2 separate regions of the Homo sapiens genome follow, and region 2 is linked to region 1. Evidence: promoter capture Hi-C in 16 types of primary human blood cells and fetal thymus (Javierre and others, 2016). All regions are on one chromosome and are shown on one strand. The core of a region is centred on a gene start or on the middle of the fragment in contact, and the rest is flanking DNA. Distances in the headings are between cores, read along the strand shown.

What was found. The method cuts DNA at HindIII sites, captures the fragments that hold promoters and counts their contacts. A CHiCAGO score of 5 or more calls a contact.
Region 2: a contact is called between a fragment that was not itself captured here and the fragment with the promoter of CLBA1 in region 1, in 1 of 17 cell types (neutrophils). The highest score is 5.2, in neutrophils.

What each region holds. Positions count from the first base shown.
Region 1 is chr14:104,981,017-104,987,965 of GRCh38, forward strand. CLBA1 (clathrin binding box of aftiphilin containing 1) reads left to right here and starts at 4,772. Exons shown (of 5, transcript NM_174891.4): 1 at 4,772-5,838. The coding sequence starts at 5,416. RefSeq lists a silencer at 4,561-5,030. The HindIII fragment of the contact is 10,527 bases long and covers 2,110-6,949 here.
Region 2 is chr14:104,754,947-104,758,760 of GRCh38, forward strand. It overlaps SIVA1 (SIVA1 apoptosis inducing factor), which reads left to right. Exons shown (of 4, transcript NM_006427.4): 2 at 684-878; 3 at 1,658-1,814. It overlaps LOC107987209 (a long non-coding RNA gene), which reads right to left. Exons shown (of 3, transcript XR_001750915.3): 2 at 1,460-2,474. Among named protein-coding and RNA genes, the nearest start is that of SIVA1, 3.7 kb to the left of the region's middle. The HindIII fragment of the contact is 2,093 bases long and covers 349-2,441 here.

The DNA of each region.
Region 1 (6,949 bases), core at 3,522-6,021:
GGGCTACTACCTGCTGCCCCTGCCTCTGTTTTCCTTCAGCAAGATGAGAGAACCCTCCAGGCCATCTTGGTGGGGGCCGAGTGAGAGCGCAAGTTCAGCGTGGCGTCACGGGAGTGTGGGGACCCCACACTTGGGAGGACTTTGCCCTGGTCCTGCCCCTCAGCCTGGGGTGGCTGAGATCTTCCCCTAGCTGTGTCCACTGGGCCTGTCCTCCCCTGGCTAAGAAATGGTCCCAGAACCAACCACAGCTGCCCAGGTCCAGGAACTTTGCCTCTGCCCTGCACGGGGCTGCCCACTTCCAAGGTGGGCACAGACACACACACGCAGCTGCGCCATGCTCCCCTGTGGCCCCAGAATTCAGGATGGGGTCTGGGCAGGGCCTGCTCCACCCGGAGGCCGTCCCTCCCTTCTCCTGCCCACTCTGAGACAGAGGGCTGGTGTCTCTCTGCAGTGGCCTCTGGCTCTGCGCTGCCCTGAGTGCTGGGGCCACAGTCTGGTTGTGACTGTCGGGGAGCTGGGGACTGCCCCTCCCACCCTCCTTCTGGGGGTCTTCTCCTAGCTTGAGGGTTAAGCTGACAGTGTCATGAGTAAGACACCTTGGGGTGTCTGTCCAGAGAGCTTCCCCACCTCAAGGAACCTGGGGTCCTGAGAGCTCTATCTCACTCCAGATGCCTCTGGGAGGGCCTGCAACTTGGGCAGTGTACCCCCACAAACAGGCAGGCTGCGGCTATGTGCAGTTGAGGACTGGCTCCCCAGGGGCCAGCCAGAATCCCTCCTCCCGCCCACCAGGGCCTCAGCAGCTGAAACAGGGGTCCAGGGTCACAGCTGTGGGAGCAGGGGAGAAGATGAGAGGGGCTGCCAGCCCCCATCCCGGGCCCTGCCCGCCAGCTGAAGCCTGCGCTCCTGTCGTCACGCCCAGCTCCAGTTTCCTCCCCATGTGCCCCTCTGAGGACAGATGCCCAGCTAGGGAGGACCACAGAAGCATGCCTGGGCTCAGGAATTCATGCCCCCACCCACAGCATCGCTGGACACAAGCCCAACTCACAGCCGCCCCTGGCACATACAAGGCCCCACACCTGCTGTAGGTGTCACCCCAGGGAGAGGGCATCGCATGCTCTCTCCTGTGCACACAGCCTCCACCTCTTCCCTGGACCACTGAGATGGGGACACTGGCCCAGCCCACTGGTTGCCCACAGCCTTCCTGAGGCTGGGTGCCGGGGCCTGGGTGAGGAGCCGAGGCTCCCCAGGCCCTGATCATCAGCAGAGCCGCTGCCCTGCCCCCATGGCCTGACTGGCGCTGCTTGCCTCCACCCTCTGCAGGCAGGGATGCCCACAGCATCAATGATTGATTCTTGCTGCGGCAGCTGCAGCAACATAAGCAAAAATAGCTCTGCTGTGGTCCCTGCCCCGCCCCAGCCACAGCCTTGCATCCAGCCCAGCCTCGTGCCCAGATGGAGGGGTGTGAGGTGAGGTGGGAGCATCTAGGACTGTCTCAGCCACTGCCTGCCCCTCCTCAGTCTTTTATACGGAGATGATGGGGGAGGACCCCCTGACCAGGTGGGGGACACTTGTCCACCCAGCCTCCCACTCTTGCCTGACCACACTGACTCCTGACCTCTAACCGCCTCACTCTCCCCCAAAGCTGGGTGCCCGTTTCAGGCCTGGGTATTGTCCCCAGGTCCACTTCCTCTGCACCCACACAGCTGGGATCAGGAAATGTGGCAGTGGTGGGGCATGTCAGGGTGCTGCCATCGTTCCACTCGGATGGGTTTCTTCAACCCATGTCTTCATCGGGCTCTCTGGCTCAGCAGTCCGTGTGGGCTAGCCTGGGATCCGAGCAGCAGCAGGTTCCCATGCTGCCGCCTGCAAGCCCTGGCACTCCTGCTGCCAGAGGTGAGGACAGGCACACGCCCCAACTTGCCCTAGGGACTTGGGGCTGAGGATCCCAGAGGACCAGGATGCCTGGGTGCTTCTGGGGACCCCTCCCCAGCCAGTCCTTGCTCATCAGGTGATGCTGGGAGATCCCAAGATGACTGTGGGGCTCTGTGCATAGGTGGCACTTGCCCCAGAACCCAGGCTGGCCCCTTCCTCCTGAGACTAGGGTAGGGAAGCTTGGCTCCTCTGCAGAAGGGAAGGTGCTCCCCACACAGCCATTGAGCAGGGCTGGGGCTCAGGGTGGACCGAGGTGGCTGGAGAGGTCCTGGGAGGGCCACATGGGCTCCTCGTCCCGACCACACTCCACCTGCCCCCTCCATGCCCCTCGGGAGTCATGGCTAATGTCCCCCACACCCAGGCTTTAATGGGAACCCACCCTCTCCGGCCCAGTCTCCCCTAGCAGCTGGGCCAGTTCAATTTGAGCAGTGCCTGCTCCAATCGCCAACCTGGAAGCCTTATCCTCAGCTCGTGCCTTTCAGGCTGTGCCATGAAGCAGGATGGTCTGCCCAGAAGCTGGCCCAAGAAGCCAGCAGCGGCCTAGCAGCCACCTGGGCTGCCCCCACCTCCTCCTGCAACCAGGGTTGGGCACCTGATGTCAAGGTTGCCGCTGCCATTTCCTCTGCACCTTGGCTTCCCCGACGCAGCACTTCTCAGTGGGTCACAAGGGGTCACTCAGGCATATTAGTTCCCTGCTGCTGCCATAACAAAATACCCCCGACACAGTGGTTGAAAACAGCATGTGCGCATTTATCAACTCCAGTTCTAGGTGTGGGCAGGATGGTGTGCCTTCTGGAGGCTTCAGGGGAGATCTGTTTTCTGGTCCCTTCAGCCTCCAGAGGCATCTGCAGTCTCGTATCACTCCGGCTCTGCTTCCATCTTTGCGTCTCCTCTCTGACTCTGACCTTCCTGCTTCCTTCTCAGGACCTTTGTGATTACATGCCTCATCCAGGCTCCACTCCTCCTCTCAAGAGCCTTAATTTAAGCCCATCTATAAAGTGTCTTTGACCCTGTAAGGTCACATAGCCACAGGTTCCAGGGGTTAGGATGTGGACATCTCTGTGGGGCTGTTCAACTGCCACACCAGCTCTTCAACCCATATGGGTCATTTCTATCCTCCAACCACCCTGGGAGTACTGTGCTCCCCACGCTCTTCACGTGGAAGCTGAGGCCCAGACGGGGGTGGGGAATTGCAGAGAACGAGGAGAGCAGCTCCTGTCCCAGCTCTGCTTCTCACGCAGGCCTTTGGGGTGGGGCCTCAGTTTCCCCACCTGTACACAAGGACAACACTCCTCCTGCCCCCCTCCCAGCTCCCTGGGCCTCAAGGACGGCAAGGACGTGCAGTGGATGAGGGGCAGCAGTGGGAACGGACACTGCCCTTAAGCTGGCAAGACAGGCCCAGGCCTGGTCTACAAACCCAGCCAGCTCCTGATCACCATCCTTAGGGTCACTGCGGTGCTGGGGTGGCCAAGCCAAGATCCAGTCCTGGGCAGTCTGACCGAAGAGCTTCCATACTGCATGGCCCGGCTGCTCTGCCCCTCAGGAAGGAGCGGGGACAGGAGGCTGGGTCTAAGGTGCAGAGAATGATCTCATCTTGTCATTTGTAAAATTAAATTGTTCTGTAGCTTGGCTGAGAAGGACCAGGGAGGGAAGGGGTGATTCAAGCAAGGACAGAGTCCAGGCAGGGCCCCAGGCCCCAGGGTGGGAGAAATGCGAGCCTGAGGTAGATAGGGGGTGGACAGTAGGTGGCATGGTTCAGGGCTTCACCAGGGCCAGGCCCTCCCCTTACCCAGAGGAGGCAGTGATGGGGGCCAGTCTGGGAAGGCCAGGGAGGAGATGGAGTCAAGGTTGACTCCTTGAGTCTGGGGGTGAGGGCAGATGGCAGAAGGCCTGGAAGCCCGGAGGGGAGCTGCCAGAGGCCAGCCTAGCTCCTTGGTCGTCCAGTGGCTGGAGAGGGGCTGTCCGTCAGCCCTGCTCTGCCCGGGTCTGGCTGGTGACAAAGGAGGGGAGCACTCCATGCGGCCTGCGAGGGAGGGGTGGAGCCTCCCCGCAGCTCCTTCCCCCAGGAATGGGGACGAGTTAGGGGCGGGCGAGGTTTTGGGATTCAGGAGTCAGCAAGACGGACTTGGCTCTCGCCAGGGACAGGTGGGGTCCTGAGGGGCCGTCGCTCAGCTGCACCCACAGAGGGGTCGGCGGCGCGGCAAGTTAGGCTGCGGGGCGCCGGGAGAAGGGGCTGCGGGTGACGGGTGCGCTGGGACGGACCTGGGGAGCTCGTCGTGAGGAAGAAAGAACCACTCTAGGGCCAGGCCCAGTGGCTCAAGCCTGTAATCCCAGCACTTTGGGAGGCCGAGGCGGGCGGATCACGAGGTCAGGAAATCGAGACCATCCTGGCTAACACGGTGAAACCCAGTCTCTATTAAAATACAAAAAAATCAGCCGGGCGTGGTGGCGGGCGCCTGTAGTCCCAGCTACTCGGGAGGCTGAGGCAGGAGAATGGCGTGAACCCGGGAGGCGGAGCTTGCAGTGAGTCGAGATCGCGCCACTGCTCTCCAGCCTGGGCGACAGAGCGAGACTCCGTCTCAAAAAAAAAAGAAAAAAAAAAAAAAGAAAGAACCACTCGGGCGGCGAACTGAGCACGGACAGAAAGCTCGAGCGGCCCGGCGCCCAGGGCTCGGCCAGTGTGGAAGCCCGATCCCACCCGCAGCGGAGGCGGCCCGGGGCAGGGAGGGCGGGTCCGGGGCGGGTCCTGAACGGCGGGGGCCGGCGCTGGCCTCGCCCCGGATGCGTGCTGACGCCACGGCGACGGACGCCGGAAGCGGAGCTGGCGCACGCCGTTGCCAGGCAACGGGGCGGCGCAGGCAGGAGGGAACGGCTGGTTGCAGGTTTCTCTCGCCCTGGTCCCGCGCGGCCCCGCCGAGGCGGCGACCAAGGTGGGTGCGGGGACTCTCGGGAGCCGTGGGCCAGGCGCTTAGCCGGCCACCTCGGGCCCTGTCCAGGCCCAGGCGTTCCAGGGCTGCTCTGCGGGCCGCGTGCGAGAGGGACTCTCGGGAGGCCCCGGGGCGCCGCACCCACTCCTTCCCACTTGGGACTCCCGCGGGCGCCCGGCTCTCGCTCCTCTGGCCAGCGTGGGCCTCCCAGGCCCCCTCGCGGCTCTCTCCAGAGCAGGAGCCCCACCTTGGGCCGCCCCTCTCACACCTGCCGTGGGTCTGGTACGCGCCTCTGTGTCGGACTCCGCGCCCGCCTGCGTGGGAGGAAGCCAGGACTCCCGGGCGACCGGGCCATTCCTGTGGTTTGTGTCAGTTCCACAGCAGCACGTGGGCACTTTCCACCGTCAGCCACTGGGCAGCCCGGGGCACTCCTGCAGCGTCCCCTGGCCCTCTCCAGGGCAGGGGAAGGTTGGGCAGTCCTGGGCGGCCAGCACCCCGGCGTGCATGTCTCCTGAGCAGCTGCCCATCGGGCCTCTGCTGGCCTGGGGGCTCCAAGATGCAAGGCCGGCGGGAGCTGGGGGGAGAGCCTTTGAGTGACCTCCAGGAGGAAGCAGCCAGCGCTTCCCTCCGAGTGGCACCTGAGAGGCTGAGTGATGACAGTTTGGAATGGAGACGGACCTGCCCCGACCTTCTCCTGTCCGATGGGAAAGCCAGCATCTCCATGCCCCGTGAGGGCGGTTCCACCTGCACTGCCCGATGTCCTGACCCTGGGGAACACAGCAGCACTTGGGGGGAGTTTGAAGGCTTTCGGGAATCTTCAGCCAAGTCTGGACAATTCTCACAGTCCCTTGAACTCCTCGAGGGACCCACAGAACCCCAGCCACCGAGAACCACTTCTGCCCCAAAAGAGTGCAGTTCTCACCAACCATGCCAGGGTGGACCTTGGGTGACAGGAACTTCTGCCGTCCCACCTTCTGAGGTATTTCTGCTGTGCTGTGGTCACCATGTTGAGTGGGACGTGTACACACCAAGAGGCCTACAGCCCTCGAATGCTGTGGCGTGCTGGCCAGGGAGGGGGCTGACAGCCCCAGAGCGTCTGCTTCTCTCCTGGCCTTCGTCCCTGGCCATGTGGTTGGCAGTCCCATCCTGAGGCCAGGGAAGCAATGAGTTGGCAGAGGAGGCTGCAGAAATGGGTCACACGAAGGCCAGGTGGGGGCCACCTGAGCTGGGTCGCTCTTTCTGACCATTCCTCCCCCAGCCTGTCCATTCCCCATTGGTGGGGGCTGCACTGGCCCCAGCTCAGGGCATTTGAGGAGGAGCTTTTTGTCTGAATTCTGAATCTGCTGAGTTCAAAAGTCTCAGAGATTCTAAAATCACATGATCACATTTCAACTTGCTTGTAATGAATTGGGTGACGCGGGATCCAACCTGTCCGGGAGCTTGTAATGAATTGGGTGATGCCCATTCCGACCTGTCCGGGAGCCAGGGTCCCAGCCTTCAGGCCCCTGCCCCCTGCTCTCTTTCAGAGCAGACTGTGGGTGTTTACCGTTTGGTGACACTTCCGCTCCTTCTCTTTTCCTGTCTTCTTCCTTCCATTGTTCCTCTTTCTCTGCCACTTCTTCCCAAATGGTTCATCCCAAGCACCATCATGAGAGATCAGAAATAAAACCAGTGAGGAAGGAAATAAAGATATTGTAGTTCTCAGGGCTGGCCTGTTTTCTCTTCCTTTTCTTTTTTTTTTTTTTTTTTTTTTTTTTTTTTTGAGACAGCCTCACTCTGTCGCTGAGGCTGGAGTGCAGTGGCACTGTGTCGGCTCACTGCAACCTCTGTCTCCTGGGTTCAAGCAGTTCTCCTGCCTTAGCCTCCTGAGTAGCTGGGATTACAGGCATCCACCACCACGCCCGGCTAACTTTTTATATATATATATATATATGTATGTTTAGTAGAGACTGGGTTTTACCATGTTTGCCAGGCTGGTCTTGAACTCCTGACCTCAGGTGATCCGCCCGCCTCGGCCTCTCAAAGTGCTGGGATTACAGGCGTGAGCCACCATGCCCGGCCGGACTGTTTTCTGAAGCAGTTTCCCTGGA
Region 2 (3,814 bases), core at 145-2,644, 230 kb before region 1:
CAAAGCATTTCTGGGTCTGGCCCTGGGCATCTGATTTTTCAAAGCTCCCCAGGTGACTGAACTGTGGCCTGATGGAAAACCACTGCTCCCAGGGATGGGTGGGTGTTCTAGAACAAGAGGTCTGGAAGGTTCTGGGATGCTTGTCTTGCCAGCAACTCTGTAGCAGGTGAAGGGGGTGTGCTCTGGCCAGAGGCTGTAGGCCCAGCTCCAAGCCTCTGGCTGCTTCCTTGGCAGGGGACGAGTTTTGTGAATTAGTGCTCCACAGTGCAGAGCTCCCTCTGTGCATTCCACAGAGCCTGGTTTCCAGGTGGGGAGTGCTGGGGAAGCAGAAAAGGGAGAAAGGGGACAAGCTTAGTGAGGCGAGGCCAGCCGTGAATTGCAGAAAATGAGCCGAGTGATAGGAGAGGGAACCCTTGCATCAGACACAGGTGGGGCTGCAGGGCCAGAGCCTTCCTGGAGGAGATGACAGCTAAGCCAGGTAAGGAAAGGACGCACAAGCATTCTCAGCATAGAGGCAGAGCAGGACCCAGCTCGCCAGGGCACAACACAGGCTGGGGTTACTGGGAGACAGAGGGCACACAGGAGGACGATGGGGTTCATGTGAGGCTAGAAAGACTCAATGGCCATGCAGGGGCTTCGTTGGTACACAGTGAAGGACGTGAGAATGATTTATCTTCCCCCAGAGAAGACCAAGCGACTCCTGTTCCTCGGGGCCCAGGCCTACCTGGACCACGTGTGGGATGAAGGCTGTGCCGTCGTTCACCTGCCAGAGTCCCCAAAGCCTGGCCCTACAGGGGCCCCGAGGGCTGCACGTGGGCAGATGCTGATTGGACCAGACGGCCGCCTGATCAGGAGCCTTGGGCAGGCCTCCGAAGCTGGTGAGTGGCACCAGCAGCCCTTTGTGGCTGTGGCACTGAGGGCAGGTGGTGGCACGAGCATTTTTCTTGATTTGCAAGGTCAGGCTTTTCCTCCCTGGGTAAGCAGGACTCTGACCCAGAGCTTGGCCTTCTGGCTCAGAAGGCTCCTGTTATCAGGAGGTCTCACATTCAAGACTGGAAGTTGTTAAACAGCTTCTAAGTACTGGGCCAAAAAAGCAGCAGAGACTCCCCGGGTATCCCGTCTGCTTTCCGCCTGCAGCCCCCTCAGATAGTCCCACAAGGCTGGAAACATGCCAGTCCCATCCCTATGCAGTGTGGGGTCTCAGAGCATCACCTGTGTTGCTGGTTAGAAATGCAATCCCCGACTCTACCTCAAGTCTGGTTGGTGTGTCTAGGAGGAGCCCAGGCACCTCTTTGTTAACCAGTAAGGCAGTGGGCCACACTGAGACCCAGATGGGACACATGGAGTTCTGACAAGCAACAGGGGAAGAATGGTCCTTCCAGCACTAGCCTCCAGGTAGCAGAGGGACCTGGTAAGGGAAAGAGCACTGAACTTGGAGTCAACTACAGGCATATCTCACCTTGGATCTCTGTAGTAAAACGGGGGTCCTGTGCACTGTACCAGGCTCACGGGTTGTCAGAAGGATCCAGTGTAGGTGGGGATGGGGTAGGCAGGTCAGAGCCCTCTGCCCTCAGGTATGCATGGAGGCAGGTAGCCCGGCAGTCCCGGAAACTCCAGTCTCCTTGCAGCCTGACGGCTTGGCGTTTCTTCCTCACAGACCCATCTGGGGTAGCGTCCATTGCCTGTTCCTCATGCGTGCGAGCCGTGGATGGGAAGGCGGTCTGCGGTCAGTGTGAGCGAGCCCTGTGCGGGCAGTGTGTGCGCACCTGCTGGGGCTGCGGCTCCGTGGCCTGTACCCTGTGTGGCCTCGTGGAGTAAGTACTTCAGTCCCTGGAGCTGCTGAGATCCCATAGCCCCAGCAAGCCGTGATGGGGGACGGGTGGGTCACCCATGTGGGCCCAGAACACACACGTGTGGCCCCTGATGCAGTGCCATCTGGCATTGCCTAACGGGACATGGTGGCAATAGATGCTTGGCCCAACTTTAGTGGTTAGTAATCCTCTCTAAGGGAAAGCTGAACCTCACAGATGACCTGCTCTGTATCCGGCTCTAGTCCCTGTCTTCAGCCACTTCCTGTTCTGATCTTTGAGCACCCCCACCTCCTCCTCCTCTGGTCTTTGAGCCCCCCCTCCCCCCGTCCGAGGAGCCCCTGGTTGGTGACACAGGTGCACACCGCAGCTTCACCACAGTCATGCGTGCCGTTTGGTTGTAGACCCTCTCAGGCAGGAAGTGGAGTGTTTGTGTAGTCTCCCATTTGTGGGTGGGTTTGCTGCAGCTGGCTGGATCCCGTCCTTACTCCTAAGGTGGGGAGGGGCGTTCTCACCCTAGGGGCTACTCACCTGGTGGATGGGAGTGGACAGTGTGGAGCCTGTTTGCCCTGCCCCGTGAGAAAGATGACTTCATCCAGACACATGTGGAACTGGCTCCATAGACCCAAAGCAAGCTTAGTCCAAACAATGTCTGAAATTGTCCATCTAAAATAGAAACCACATGTTACATCTCGAGTCCTTTCTCTCGAGCCTTTCTTCAGTCGGGGCAGAGGCCCAGACTCATTGGAGACGGAGAGCCCTGGGCAGGGGGGGCAGCACCAGGGAGAAGCGCCGCGTGCCAGTGATCGGCTCCCATGGCTTCAGCATGGGCAGGAGTGGGGTAACGCACCCCATCCAGGTTGGGAATCATCTGCAGGGCTAGCTATGAATGTGGGATACTCTGTCTTTGCTTTTCACCCGCTGAGTTCATCTTCTTTCCTAGAAGTAAACTGAAAAGGGCAGGGTTTTCTCATTGTCTGGTGGCCCTCTCACCAAAGCAGAAGTGAACATAGCCATGGGCAGGTTCAGCGGAGAGGTGGGTCCCAGAGCGCTGCGTGGCTGGCCTCCCACTCCTGCCCTGCACACCATCCTTGAGGGACTCCCTTGCGCCCATTTCCTCCTGGCCTCTACCTACTTTCTGCTGCTGCTTCCTCCCATACCCACAGAGTTCACGTTGAGCTGAGTGGGCCACTGTCCCCACTGTGGACACACTCTTTTATCGCAGCTACAGCACAGGAGGTGGGCTCTGCCCTCTTTCACAAATAAATGACTTGTTCCAGGTCACAAGCCAGAAGTGGCATTCCCAGGCCAGGCAGCCCAGCTGGTGGCACCCGCAGTCTCCTACCCCCTCCCCTGCCATTTCCTACTTCAGGACCAGGCGTCGCAGGAGTGGGGGAAAACAGGGATCTGTCCACACGGCTCTGGTTTAACACAGATGCAGCCCAGCAGCCTTTGGCGTCCTGCTGATGGCCTGCACTGGCCCACGCCTGGCCCGTCCTCTGCAGGGCTCTCCAGCTGGCTGCCGGTGGCGGTGAGGGGCTGTCTTCGCGGCTCACCCACAATACTACTGGCAAACTCTGCAAACCAAGTGGCAAGCAGTTCTGGCTGCCTTGTTGACTCCACGGCCCTGTCGTGTTTGGGGTAGCCATTGCCAGTCCCGTTTCCTCGCAACATCTCTCTTAATCACTTTCTCCCTGTGTTTTGCCGGGTTCCCTAGCCTTTACCTTTAGAGCTTTCTTTTTTTTTTTTTTTTGAGACGGAGTCTCGCTCTGTCACCCAGGCTGGAGTGCAGTGGTGCGATCTTGGCTCACTGCAACTTCCACCTCCTGTGTTCAAGCAATTTTCCTGTCTCAGCCTCCCAAGTAGCTGGAGTTACAGGCGTGCGCTAGCACGCCCAGCTAATTTTTGTATTCTTAGTAGAGACAGAGTTTCACCATGTTGGCCAGGCTGGTCTCGAACTCCTGACCTCAGGTGATCCTCCGGCCTCAGCCTCCCAAAGTGCTGAG